Linked DNA regions of Homo sapiens: all the other regions are linked to region 3. The links are contacts of gene promoters, found by promoter capture Hi-C in blood cells and fetal thymus (Javierre and others, 2016). All regions are on one chromosome and are shown on one strand. Each heading gives the region's core, a stretch centred on a gene start or on the middle of the fragment in contact. The rest is flanking DNA. Distances are from core to core; before and after follow the strand shown. Region 1 holds the start of LOC124900216 (a long non-coding RNA gene). Region 2 overlaps THEMIS (thymocyte selection associated). Region 3 holds the start of PTPRK-AS1 (PTPRK antisense RNA 1). Region 4 overlaps THEMIS (thymocyte selection associated).

Evidence for each region. The method cuts DNA at HindIII sites, captures the fragments that hold promoters and counts their contacts. A CHiCAGO score of 5 or more calls a contact.
Region 1: a contact is called between a fragment that was not itself captured here and the fragment with the promoter of PTPRK-AS1 in region 3, in 1 of 17 cell types (naive CD8 T cells). The highest score is 5.1, in naive CD8 T cells.
Region 2: a fragment that was not itself captured here is called in contact with the fragment with the promoter of PTPRK-AS1 in region 3 in 2 of 17 cell types (total CD8 T cells and naive CD8 T cells); the score reaches 6.1 in total CD8 T cells.
Region 4: a contact is called between a fragment that was not itself captured here and the fragment with the promoter of PTPRK-AS1 in region 3, in 6 of 17 cell types (naive CD8 T cells, total CD8 T cells, non-activated CD4 T cells and 3 more). The highest score is 10.2, in naive CD8 T cells.

Annotation. Positions count from the first base shown.
Region 1 is chr6:128,184,184-128,187,588 of GRCh38, forward strand. PTPRK (protein tyrosine phosphatase receptor type K) reads right to left here. Exons shown (of 30, transcript NM_002844.4): 7 at 249-542. LOC124900216 (a long non-coding RNA gene) reads right to left here and starts at 242. Exons shown (of 2, transcript XR_007059752.1): 1 at 1-242. The HindIII fragment of the contact is 7,214 bases long and covers 1-3,405 here.
Region 2 is chr6:127,874,106-127,877,112 of GRCh38, forward strand. All of the region lies in intron 1 of THEMIS (thymocyte selection associated), which reads right to left. Among named protein-coding and RNA genes, the nearest start is that of THEMIS, 25 kb to the right of the region's middle. The HindIII fragment of the contact is 3,876 bases long and covers 1-3,007 here.
Region 3 is chr6:128,026,266-128,029,359 of GRCh38, forward strand. It overlaps PTPRK-AS1 (PTPRK antisense RNA 1), which reads left to right and starts at 1,600. Exons shown (of 5, transcript NR_125849.1): 1 at 1,600-1,658. All of the region lies in intron 13 of PTPRK (protein tyrosine phosphatase receptor type K), which reads right to left. The HindIII fragment of the contact is 8,791 bases long and covers 1-3,094 here.
Region 4 is chr6:127,855,683-127,859,044 of GRCh38, forward strand. All of the region lies in intron 1 of THEMIS (thymocyte selection associated), which reads right to left. Among named protein-coding and RNA genes, the nearest start is that of THEMIS, 44 kb to the right of the region's middle. The HindIII fragment of the contact is 1,556 bases long and covers 990-2,545 here.

The sequences.
Region 1 (3,405 bases), core at 86-2,585, 160 kb after region 3:
AACTACCATGCCAAAAAAGGACTCTAGATTCATAATAATAATGGCTTGAGAATAGAGAAGCACTCCCATGTCCTCAAATCAGTCAAATTATGACATAATCAAGGTGATGATTTATGTAATTCATTGGAACTCTTAATAGTGTGACTATATCATATATCAAATAATGAGAACCTTCAACACTGCATGTATTAATGTGTCTTATGCTAGATTCCTTCACAAGGTAGAAAAGGTCTGCTACTCAGTCTTACCTGCACATTTTGTTCTGGTGATTAGTGGAGGTCCTGGGAGCCCCGTTCCACCTTCACCAGGTCTTGTAAGTAGAACTCGGATCTCATATTCGGTATCTGGATCTAAATGCCATAATTTGTAAGTTGGAGCATTGACTGCATGGGTTTCTGTCCAGGATCCTGATGTCATTCGGTACTCTACTTCTTTCAGGATGATAGGACCATCGCCAATGATCGAGTTGGCATTTAGTTGGATCAGCAAATATGTAGGCCCAACACCAAGAAGCTGAGGAGGAGCAATGGGTCTTGGCGGTTCTAGGAGAGATGAGTGTGCACTTCAATTAGTAAGATTTAAAATAATACAAAGATATATTAGTGTCTAATAAGGCCTAAATGCTTAATGGATCATTTATTAGAAATGCATAATAAATACTTGAAAGAAAACTAGAAGACGCATGATCTGACAACTGTACTTTTAAAGAACATATAATTTTGCAAGTGCATATGACTATTTTAACATAATTTTCCTGTATTAAAAACACATTTTTTTTCAGGAGATCAACTTGTAAAGTCACAGTATACAAAGGAAATAAAAAGAAAATATTTAGATATGGATAGCTCTAATTAGCTACTAAGAGAGTAGAGTTGATCTTTGACAATTTATTTCATTCACAAACTATGCCCAAGAGGTATTTTTCTTTTTGCTTTCCTTGTTACTTCTTCACAGTTTCTACAGATGAGTAAAGGAAGAAAGAATAACATAACCGAACTCAGAAAGTGATGCCAGGTGCTAACTTGTTTCTACAAATCTGCCTCACAGTGTGACAAATTTAAATTTACACCTAGGCACAATCACAAATCACTAAACATCACTGGTCTTTGGGAGCAGCATAAGATAAGGCAATTCACCAACTATTAAACTCAAATATCAAAGGCACACTATAATTTAATTTTGGATATCTTAAGATATTCTGCTTGAAAGAAACTTTGGAAAACATTATTTCAACATTTGTACTTACAGAAAAGTTGAATGATATATTAAGGCACTTTTTTTTTCTTTCATTAGAACAATGTGACTGAAATGAGACACCGAACTTTATGAAGGACTCAACAGCTATAGCTCTGTTCATATGGTCTTTCCACAAGGGATAATAACTCATAAAGTTCTTTGAATTCCTGGAACACTTCTCACTTTTCTCAGGAAAGTCAAAAGACCTAAAGAAAGTGTTAATAAAGTAGTAATTGCTCAAAAATTAATTTAAAACTTTTTTTAAGAGTTGGAGCAAATCACATAAACTATTAAAACACAACCACAAAATGCTCCCTCAGTCCAACCCACTACAGGTACGGGGTGGACTGAAGAAGGTACAAATAGAGGGAAGTCATGAGCACATAATCAATATCTTTCTAGTTGGATTTTTTGTTTCAATGGCAATGCATTGCATGAAAAATATACAATGCAAATAAGGCCTGTAGACAGGTTTTACCTTCTTATGCAGGTTTAAATGAAACAAGAATGTTCAGGTGCAGACCAGGATTTTCTTTTTAACCCTGATTGTATAAAAGTATAGTTTCTAGCTTAAAAGCCTCTGAATTACAAATAACCTTAAAATTAGGAATAAGATTATCTGGTCTGTACAGCTACACAGGCTAAAGTAATTTTCAAGAAGATTCTTTCAAAATTCATATGATAAATATTAATTGAGTAGCTATTAATTGTTAGGCTGTCCTACACATTGGGTATCCATATAACATTGTAGGGGAGACATAGTAAAAAGAAATCAATGAATTCATTATTTTAAACTGAAATTTATATAGGAAACAAAAAGAAGACTGATAAATAATGAATGTAATATCAATATTTTTTGTCCAAAATCACTTGAAGGACATAAGTAACTCCTCACAAGTATTCATGGCTCATTATGGCAGTAACTTTTAAACTAATTATTTGTAGAACCACATGACCTTGGGATTCACTGGGCTCATGTTTAAAACAAAAACAAAACTAAGATCAAAGATGATAACATATGCTATATGAAGTGCAAACATTTATAATTTCTATAGAAAAGTGGTTAACATATGATTTACAAACTTTAACTACAACATCCATTCCTGATAGTTTGCAAATTGTTTCAACAATATGTAGTCAAAATTGCATAGTAAGTGAACTCTTTCCAATTTCACGACTGAATTCAACGGAGAAGTTATTCACAAAAGAAAAAAGTTTGAATAAAATAAACACAGTTTAGAATTTTCACTTATCAACTATGAAAGACAGAGCTAGACATTTCATACCATGAAATTTTACCAACTGCTCTAACAACTTTTGTACTCAGAGTTTTAAAAAGTTTTTGTAGAGAGGGAGAAAGTTGATATATTCTCAAACCCTAAACTAAAATGAAACTGAATCGAGAAGTGAACATAATAGAAAAAATGTAAATGTCTTCCGAGATTACCTAAATGCTGCACATATTTTAAGAAGCAGTCTGTATTTTGTGAATAAACTGAGTTGCCTCATATGTGCAATATTTGTTTTCATTCCAGATGGCTCATATACTAACTAATTTAAGTTGGAAAGAATGCTAAATTCACATCTCGCTGGGGTGCTACCCCAGTGTAGGGATAGAATAAACAGTCACAATATGCCAAGTGAATTATATATAACAAACCTTGGTTAATCATAAATTTATAGATATTCTGAAACCTGAACTTATGTGAGTATATCAAATGGTAAATCTCACCAATCAAAACTCTGCACACTCTTGCTATGGAAAATAAGGAGAAAACCTAAGAGGAGAGCAAAAGATGAGAGAGGAAGGAAAGAAAAAATAGCCATACCGCAACATAAGAAACAAGTGAAAGAAAGAAGAGAAATAAGTGAAACAGTAAAGCACAACATTAATTCCAACATTTCTATCTTTAAGGAAGTGATATATAAAAGAAAACAAAAATTTGTAGTCTGGAAACCTAATATGAAAAAAATGCTTACACATTAATAGCTGTGTAATCTTAAATATGTTATTTAACTTTTTCACATTATAATTTATTCATTCGTGCACTAGGCATTATTTGAAGAATTTTTGAAGACTCAACTCCTACATACACCAACAAGCCCTGTGTGATGCTAGGTTGCTTTGTTCTGTTTTGCCATATAGCATATACATTTTAACACTGAAAA
Region 2 (3,007 bases), core at 126-2,625, 150 kb before region 3:
TGTACACGAGAATGAGCTCACTTTTTACTGCAATTCACAATTTGTAGGAGAGGATGAGTACTCAAAAGGAGATGATTAGTGTAACAGGGTGTTTTAATTGGATGCTTCCAACACTTGAGCTCATCACAATAGCAACAGAACAGGGCTACAAAATTATTATGGTAGAACAATATTACTATAGTTAATTTTATGTAGTTGTGATTTAACACTGCATCTGTTACATGTGTTTACCTTTCTCTCAACTGTGACTAGCACCATAAACAGTCTGTAAAGGCATGTGCAAGTTTTGAAAAATGTTAACTTTTTATAATAGATTTGTGTATATTTTATGGTAGTATACGATAAAATAGATTAGTAGCTACATATATTGTATGGATTCATGACATACCTAATTTTCTTAGTTTTTATCTTAAATATTTCTAGGCTACGTTGTGAGTTTTTTCAAATTGTTTCAAATCTCCAAAAAAATCTCCAATATATTTATTTTTAAAAATCTGCATATAAGTGGACCCACAAAATTCAAACCATTTGTTCAAGAGTCAAGTGTACTAAACTTCACATTATACACACACAAATATTGACTCAAAATGGATTCTGAACTTAAATTTGAAAGGAGTTAAGAAGAAGGTATGGCTATAAAAAAGCAACATGGGTGATGTGATGATATAAATATTTTGTCTCTTGACTGTAACAATGTCAATATCCTGGTTGTAATATTGTATTACAGTTTTGTAAGACCTTATCATTGAGGGAAGTTGAGTAAAGCAGGGGTCTGCAACCCCTGGGCCACAGACTGGTGCTGGCCGCACAGCAGGAGGTGAGCAGCTGAACAGCCAGCAAAGCTGAGCTTCACCTTTCATCAGATCAGCGGGCATTAGATTCTCCTAGGAGCAGAAACCCTATTGTGAACTGTGCATGCATGCAGGGGATCTAGGTTGTGTGCTCCTTATAAGAATCTAATAATCTGATGATAAATGTAGTGTGTACTTGAAACATCCCCAAAACCTCTGCCCCTGCAATCAATGGAAAAATTGTCTTTCACGAAACCAGTCCCTGGTCCCAAAAATTTGGGAACCACTGGAGTAAAAGATACATGGGATCTCTTTGTATTATTTCTTACAACTGCATATGAATCTGCATTCATCTCAAAATAAAGAGTTTATTTTGTTTAACTTAAATAAATGTGTGTATGTGTGCAACTTTTGACACCAGTGACAGAGAAAGTCTTTGTCAAACACAGAAGCATGTGCATACAAGGTGAAGTAGTAGAAGAAGCCTCAACACAATGTAGAAACCCCCAAACTGCAGAAAGCCATTAGGGAAGTCAACATAGCAGGGAGAAAGGCGAGTAGGTTTGTTGATATTGGAAATGTGAGTCTCTTCCCACCTTGAGACTTCCAGAGGGACTCCACAGTGGAACTATCCAGTAAAACTTTCTGCAATGTTGGAAATATAATCTGAGCTGCCCAATACTGCAGCTAATAGCCACGTGAGGCTCTTGAGCACTTAAATGTAACTAATGTAACGGAGGAACTCAAGTTTTACATACATTTACTTTTACTTAATTTAAACTTAAAGAGCCACATAGGACTAGTGACTACTGTATTGAACAGCACAGTGGTATAAAAAGATTAAAAACAAAAATGAGAGCTGCAGTTTTGCCATTGGTAGACTGTTTCAGAGCTTTGGTAATTTGGTCATCTATGTGTCATGTGTCACCTTGATTGTCCTCTCATGCCGATGAAGTTAGCAACAAACAAATCGAAGTATAATCCTCTACATAGTTGACATGTGATTATAGCTAAATGAGGTCAGTCTGGATGTCTGGTTATTAATATTGATAGAAAGGGCATTCCAGAAAGTAAAAATACCACTTTTAAGATTTAAACAAATTAATGTGTTAACCGATTATCTGACATCCAATGTTTTCCTACATGATCTGATTACAAAATAAAAATTCAGTGATTGGAGAAAACTCAAGAAGAATATATTGGAAATGCAGGCAATATAGCATTGTTATTGTAAGAAATTTTTCCTCAGTTGTCACAGAGTGGCAAGAGACACTACAGGCAATGAAATGTGTTACAGAGTGAACCAGGCATGCACAAGCGTCTAAATAAGATGACAGCTGCAAATATCAAAATGATCCACCAGCAGGCACTGGCACTAGTGAATTTCAAGTGAAAAAAATAAGATCGAACTGACTTCCAGATTGAGGTGCTGGGGTATTAGGAGAATGATAGGGCACTAAGATTCATTGATGCAGAAAAATAGGGAAGGAAGCAAAGAGTTCAGTTCTTGATATATTGTTTCTTACATCAAATGGTCATCCTTAAACAGAGATGGTCCTGTCTAATTCCTTTTCAACAATTGTTTGCATACAGACTGTCTTAGAATGGGGAAAGTTTTAAAATACAGATTCTTGGGTTATCTTCCAAAATTCTCAACCAGATTCTCCATGGTGAAACCCACAAATATGCAGTATTTTAAAGTTCCTTAGTAAATTGCAAAGTTTGGTTAGGTTTGCAAATATTGTAGCATATTAAGCAGGTAAAGGAAAGTCAGGAGACAACATAAATCAACTTAGAATAGCATATGGATTTAAGAGTTAGTTAAAGATATAGTGTGAAAACAAAACTAAACGAAAGCAATTAACTATGGCTAGATCTGCCTCCACTCAGAGTGACAATAGAGCATCTTGGACATACGTGGAAATAAATTTTTAAGATTATTATAATACCCTTATAATTTACTTAAAATACTTCAGCTAGATAATGAAATACATCTAGGCATATCTCAGAGATATTGCAGATTTGGTTCTAGACCACTGCAATAAATGAATATTACAATAAGGCAAGTCACACAAATTTTTTGGTTTCTCAGTGCATATAAAAATTATATTTACAGTATACTGTAGTCTATTAAGTATCCAATAGAATTATGTCTAAAAAATAATGTATATACCTTAATTTAAAACCAATGTGTTGCTAAAAACTGCTAACAATCC
Region 3 (3,094 bases), core at 350-2,849:
CTCACTCATGTAAATACTAGCTGCAGAAGGTCTGGCAAAACTTTCTCCTATTTGTATATGTGTAAAGTGGTCTTTCCCTTACATCAAGTTAAAGAAAAAATACAGTTGTAATAGCTACTTCCCAATAGCCAAAGGGTTGTATTTGAAAGAGGGATGAAAATCACTCCAGGTACCAAGAAAAACTACTGTGTGATCTGGGACAAGTTATCTGCTTTTTTTGAGACCCACTTTTCTCATCTTTACAATGAAATAACTAAATTCTGCTCTCTAGGCTTGTTCTGAAGATTACTGAATATACATTTAAAGTACCTAGAAGTATTTGACACATAGCAGGAACTTAATATACAATTACTGGTATTACTATTAAGGATTAAGAAAGCACTGGCATGCAACATATTATATATTTGACAAGATTACATCATCTTGAAAAAATATAAGAAGTATTCTTTTTGTATAGTACTTTAAGGAGGATATTATTCATTTTATATCATTTTCCTTCTCACTGTGATATGTAGAATATATCACACCAAAATTGTGGTTGACCCAACACTCCAACCAGTGTCCTATTTTATTCACTCTGTATTTCTTAATCTATTCAATAAATATTACTAAATCCATTTGCTGTGCTAGATGCTGAGGGAGGTGTGTGACACAGCCTGTAGTCTAGTAGGGGAGGTAGGCATTAAATAATTAACTCCAGTCAATTTCAGTGCTATATATGAAAAAGACAATTCACTCCTTTTTATGACTTGACTTACAGCTCACAGTGCCCAGAAAACTGGGATTCTTGATAGAATGCGCCACATATATCCTAATTAGCAACAATCACTAGTTTGGCCCCATAATGTACATACCTAACACACACTTTCACAGGCAAGAGAAGAAAATACCTATCATCATATTATGATCAAAGTATTTTGAAGTAAAAATACTTCCTCATTATTTCTTAGAATACTGCATACAGCAATTCCTTTAAAAGCAGACTCTACTAGCATGTTTCCCACTGAACAGAACTGTTTGTCCATTTAACCAAAAGGTATTTATTGCCCGGGAATTCATTAGTTCATTATTTGAAGAAATACGTATATTGGGCAAGAATGTAAATCAGGCTGTTTAGTTATCACATGAAAATGCATAAAACAGTACCCACATTCAAAGAGTTCAAAGAGTCCTTCAGGAAATCAGGTGCCTAAAAGTCAAACTGACCTTTAAAAAAAAAATGTTCATAGCTTCCTCTGTTAAATGAATGATCGTTTCAGAGCTTTCTAAATGCCAAACTCTTTTAATATATTATTTCAATTAGCTTTCACAAGCACTTATGAGGCTTGTTGTATGTTTTTTTTTTCCTTTGAGACAGAGTCTTGCTCTGTCACCGAGTCTGGAGTGCAGTGGAGCCATCTCAGGTTACTGCAACCTTCTCCTGGGTTCAAGCAATTCTCCTACCTCAGCCACCCGAGTAGCTGGGACTACAGGCGTGTGCCACTGTGCCTGACTAATTTTTGTTTTTAGTAGAGACGGGGTTTCACTCTGTTGGCCAAGTTGGTGCGTACTCCTGGCCTCAAGTGATCCGCCCACCTTGGCCTCCCAGAGTGCTGGGATTACAGGCATAAGCCACTGTGCCCAGCTGTATCTTCTTTTACCGATGAGGACACTGACAGGTTGGTATCACCTCTTTCCTAGTCTATATTGCAGCCACTCCCTTATTGAAGTTTCTGACTCCAAGTCCTACTCATCCTAATCTACCTGCAGCTTTTAAGGTGTCATTTTTCTAAAACTTAAATATGATCCTATCATTGTTCTTCTTAATAGCCTACAAAGATTTCAGGGAAAATGAAAATGACGAATATAAATTATACTGCACACACTATTTATAATAATATTTAGCCACTTAAAATTAAAACACATAAAAATGTGGGTAAAGCTCATGGTAAAATAGTAACTACAAATAATTACAAGTCACAATCTTTGCAATTATGAGAAATGTTTAAGTAAGCACCTGATAAAAAAAAGGAAAAAGCAAAAGTGATAACAGTTGCTTAGAATATTGTTTCAGAACACCTTTTAAGGTTACCACACTGTTTTAATTTTTAAAGTGGAAGAGAAAGTGCTTTAGCACTGTTGATAGCTGCCACCCTGCCCTCAAGATAAAGTGAATCTTGAGTCTTACAGCCCTTTCTCATATCTGTATCAACATACATTTTAGCCTAATTTCTTACTAACTCCTCAGTATATTCTTGAACACTGCATTAACTTTCATGTCTAACTGCAAACCTCTGCCCATGCTGTTACCAGTGTGGATATGGTCTCTGGTTTTTCTACCTATTTAAATGTCACTTTGTATGGAATTCTATTTCATGTTTAGGCACACTGCATGAAATTATTACTTCAACTATCAGGTTCTTTCACAATTCACAACTTCTTGAGAGCATGGAACATATCCTATGTATTTTTAGTATTTTCTCAATGCCTAGTGTAAGACATATGGCAGAGAGTAAGTGTGCAACAAAATTGTGTTAATATTCATATTTTTCATAAGTGAAAACAATTTTTTTGTTGATATGATGCTTTGATGGTTTCTGATTTAAGGTTAGGATGTTAAACGGACTCTATTTTTACATGACCATAATTCTACTCCCCAATTCTGTTCCTAAATCTTTAGTGAGCTAAGAATTCAGATTCATGGTAAGGTTAGAATTGTGCTGGACTGCTTGTGACTTCAACTATCCATCTTCCATGGTCAGTTCTTGATCAACTGATACAGTTTGGGTGTTTGTGCCCTCCAAATCTCATGCTGAGATGTATTCCCCAATGCTGGAGATGGGACTTGGTGGGAGGTTTTTGGTTTTGGGGGTTGGCTCTCTCACGAATGCCTTGGTGCCATCCTCACAGTAATGAGTGTTCTTGTGAGATCTGGTTGTTTAAAGAGTGTGGACCTTCCCTCTCCTGTCTCCCTCTCTTGCCAAGTGATACATGGTTCCCCTTCACCTTCTGCCATGATTGTAAGCTCCCTGAGGCCCTCACCAGAAGCAGATGCCAGCACTACGCTTCCTCTACAGCCTGCAGAACCATGAACCATTTAAACCTCTTCTCTTTA
Region 4 (3,362 bases), core at 518-3,017, 170 kb before region 3:
AAACTTTTTGCCCATTTTTATCTCTTGGTTTTTGACAAGCTAGAAACCATTCTGAGTATCTTTGTGGCGATAGGGGGCAGACCAACCCAGATAAACTGAAAAGCTTCATTTTAGTCAGTATTTCAATCGTCTTCTTGACAAACCTTTTATCATAGATGCTACAGCTAAGTTTTCATTCACTTATTTTCCTTTAATATTCCCTGATGGAAGGACAGTGAGGAGTAAAATAACCACAAGATGAACAACAGCCAAGAGCAGAGGCAAAAATTCTGGATAATCTACCCCCAGTGAAAAGGAAACAACCCAAAAACTATATCTCTGGCATATTATTGCTTTACAATTCAACACTAACTTAAGGCAAGTATAAATAAACATTATAGAGCTGTGAGCTTTTATATATATCAGTTTTTCCTGACTTCCAAGATGATTTACGTTGTCTTTGCCATACTACATGTGAAGTATATGAGCACAGCGTTTTAGGTTTGCTTGTTTGTTTTCTGAATTTTTCTGTGTAGAACCACCTCCTCATAGAATTGTTCCTGATATGTAGCATGCACCTAGAACATTTTTATGGTATTGATGGTTGCCAGAAAAGTTAGTAAGCCTGGTATCCAATCTAGCTCTAAACAACAACTCTGAGGTCATATCAGAGTCCCAATAGGTAACAGGGCACACTCAAATTAGAATAATTTCAGGAAGTTTATCATAGGGGCCATCTTTAAAAAGAGGCACAGCCAGTTCTAGGCAACCAAAGAAAATAAATGTCCTGACCTCACTCTTCTCCATAGGCATCCCATTAGCCAAATTCTGCCAGAAGCCAGAGGACAAGCGAGCTACTAATGTCCCCACAGAAGTCAGCTTCCCAGGCAGAGTGGGTATGAAAATCCAGCACACCCACATTACTGTCCTTATCTGAGCAAGAAGCATTTTTGCAGACAAGAAGAATACATCTAAAGAATACATATTAAGGATAGTCTATCCATTCCTCAAGCTTCCGGTACATATTTCCATAACCCTCTCCTTGTCTCATACTATTCCCTTAACTACATATGTGCTCATATTTTCGTTAACTTTAATGCTTAATGTTATCAGCAGGCTCAAGTCCTTTGTGGAACAAATTGAGGTATTAAAAATACTAATAAATCCACAGTGACATTTTTCCCCCAATTGACTCTGAATGGTTATTTGCTATGATCCTCATTTGGCAATTAATCACATACTAACATTTTATATCTTTAGTATTATCTCACCCTATACTTAATTTTTTATGAGTTTCAGTTTTTATGACTCCCAATTCAATTTTAAACTTCATGAGAAGAAATATTGCATTACTTTCTTGTATGACTACAACACATCAACTTCCCCTGTTCATTCATTCAGCAAACTTTGATTAAAAAAAAAAACCTACTATGTTGGCGATTGGCAATAGGAATCAGAGATAAAATGCATTATTCATTCCCCCCAGAAGCATTGTCTTGAAGGGAAAGAACAATTAAGCAGACAATTGCAACAGATTAGGAGAAGGGTGTAATAAAGGAAATACAGGGCAATGTGGGAGTATACTGAAGGCATTTAATTATGCAATTACATGAAAAAGAGATTAGAGAAGGATTCCTGGAGGAGATGACTGCAGATTTGAGTTTTAAAGGAAGAGTCACAGGACACCAGGACAGGCAGAGGAAATAGTATTTGAAAAGGCACTGAGATGTGAAAGAGCCTGATACATTCTGGAAACTTCAAGTACTTTGTTATGTCTAAAATGTAAGTAAGAAGGAGGAAGTGGTAAAAACAGAGACTAGGGAAGTAGAGGGAGTCCTGATGGTTCAGAGCATTCATTATTGATTCATTATCAATAAATAAAAAAGCAATTTAAAGTATGAAGCAACCACAAAGTCACAGAATCTACATTTCCAGTTATCATGGTCCAAAAACACATTTAAGGACAGGTCATTTGTACTCTAAGTGTTTGCTATACAAACCTTGGTCCACCACATCACCTGAGAGCTTGTTAGAATCTTAGACCCCAGACCTACTGAATCAGAACCTGTGTTTTTAACAAGATCCCTAGATGATTTATAAGGACATTAAGGTTTGCAAACATTGGCCTAGGCAACAAATGGATAACAATATAGTCTCTGTTTGAAATTGTTGCAAAACTAACATAGAGGGGAAAATGTGTTAAGCAGAGAAAGCACTGGGCATCATTGAGTTAGAGGATGTTATAAGTGGAGAGAGGGAAAGGGAAGGCTTTTAAGTAAAGAAGCAAATAGTAAAATTTTTCTTTGTCATATTAAATGGAACATAATCTAACGTAGCCCATTTCAGCTGAAGTCTGTTGGGCTTAATTTCAGTGCACTGATTATCTAATTGTAAATGTAATGTATATCAAATTGGCTGAGTTGGAATGTCATCTTTCTTTTAAAGGTTCAATTGGAATTCAAAATAAAAAGATAAATTTATGTGAGATTTCATATCAATTCACATGGAATAGAAGCCAGAGAATTCTATAAAAAGAAATTTCATGAGTCTTGGTCACCACAAGAAAAGCTTTTGACTCTTCAGGTCTTTTTCCAAGCAAGTCTTTCCTTTTGGAAGAAAAAAGCTCACTTCTTTCAGTCACATAAGGAAAAGACTATCATGTAAATAATAATCTTTTGTAATTTCTCTTTAATATTTCGTGACTTCCAATGTTCTTCAACCAAGAAAGCTGTTAACTCATTTTTAATAAAGAAAGTGTTCAGAGATGTCCAGCACTAGAAAGCTAGAAAGTTATGTCTATGATAGGTGACAGGGACATATAGCAAAGCTTAAGTCGCTAAAACTGGAAATCTTGTATTTTATTATCACCAATATAATGTGTCTTAAAATATATTTTTTCCTTCTTGATAAGTTAAAATGGTGAATTTTAAAAATATCCAACTTTCATTATCTCAAAACAAACACATAATATGTGTAATTGCTTTTAAAAAAATTGCTGAGATATGTGTCTGAAATATATCTGTGTATATATAGACATACATATTAAAATGGCTTTCATTTCATTTTAACCATAAAACATGTATTTTGAATAAGCAAATCTCGAATCTATTAAATCTTTACAGACTGATTCTATCCAAGTCAAAGCATATGTATTCAGAATAATGCCAAACATCAGAGAAAGCTGGAACAAAGCAGCCTGTTTTCAGTGATCAAACATTGCCCCTGAAGGCTGTAATGAAAGAGCCATGTGCCTTTGAAATCACCTTTTCTGTAATGCTACTTTGCTCAATAAAAACGACACATTAATATCCTTTTATGAGCTCATCCCTTGTTTGACAATCCATATAAGCAATGCTGTGATCACATCAGAACAGCCAAAACAA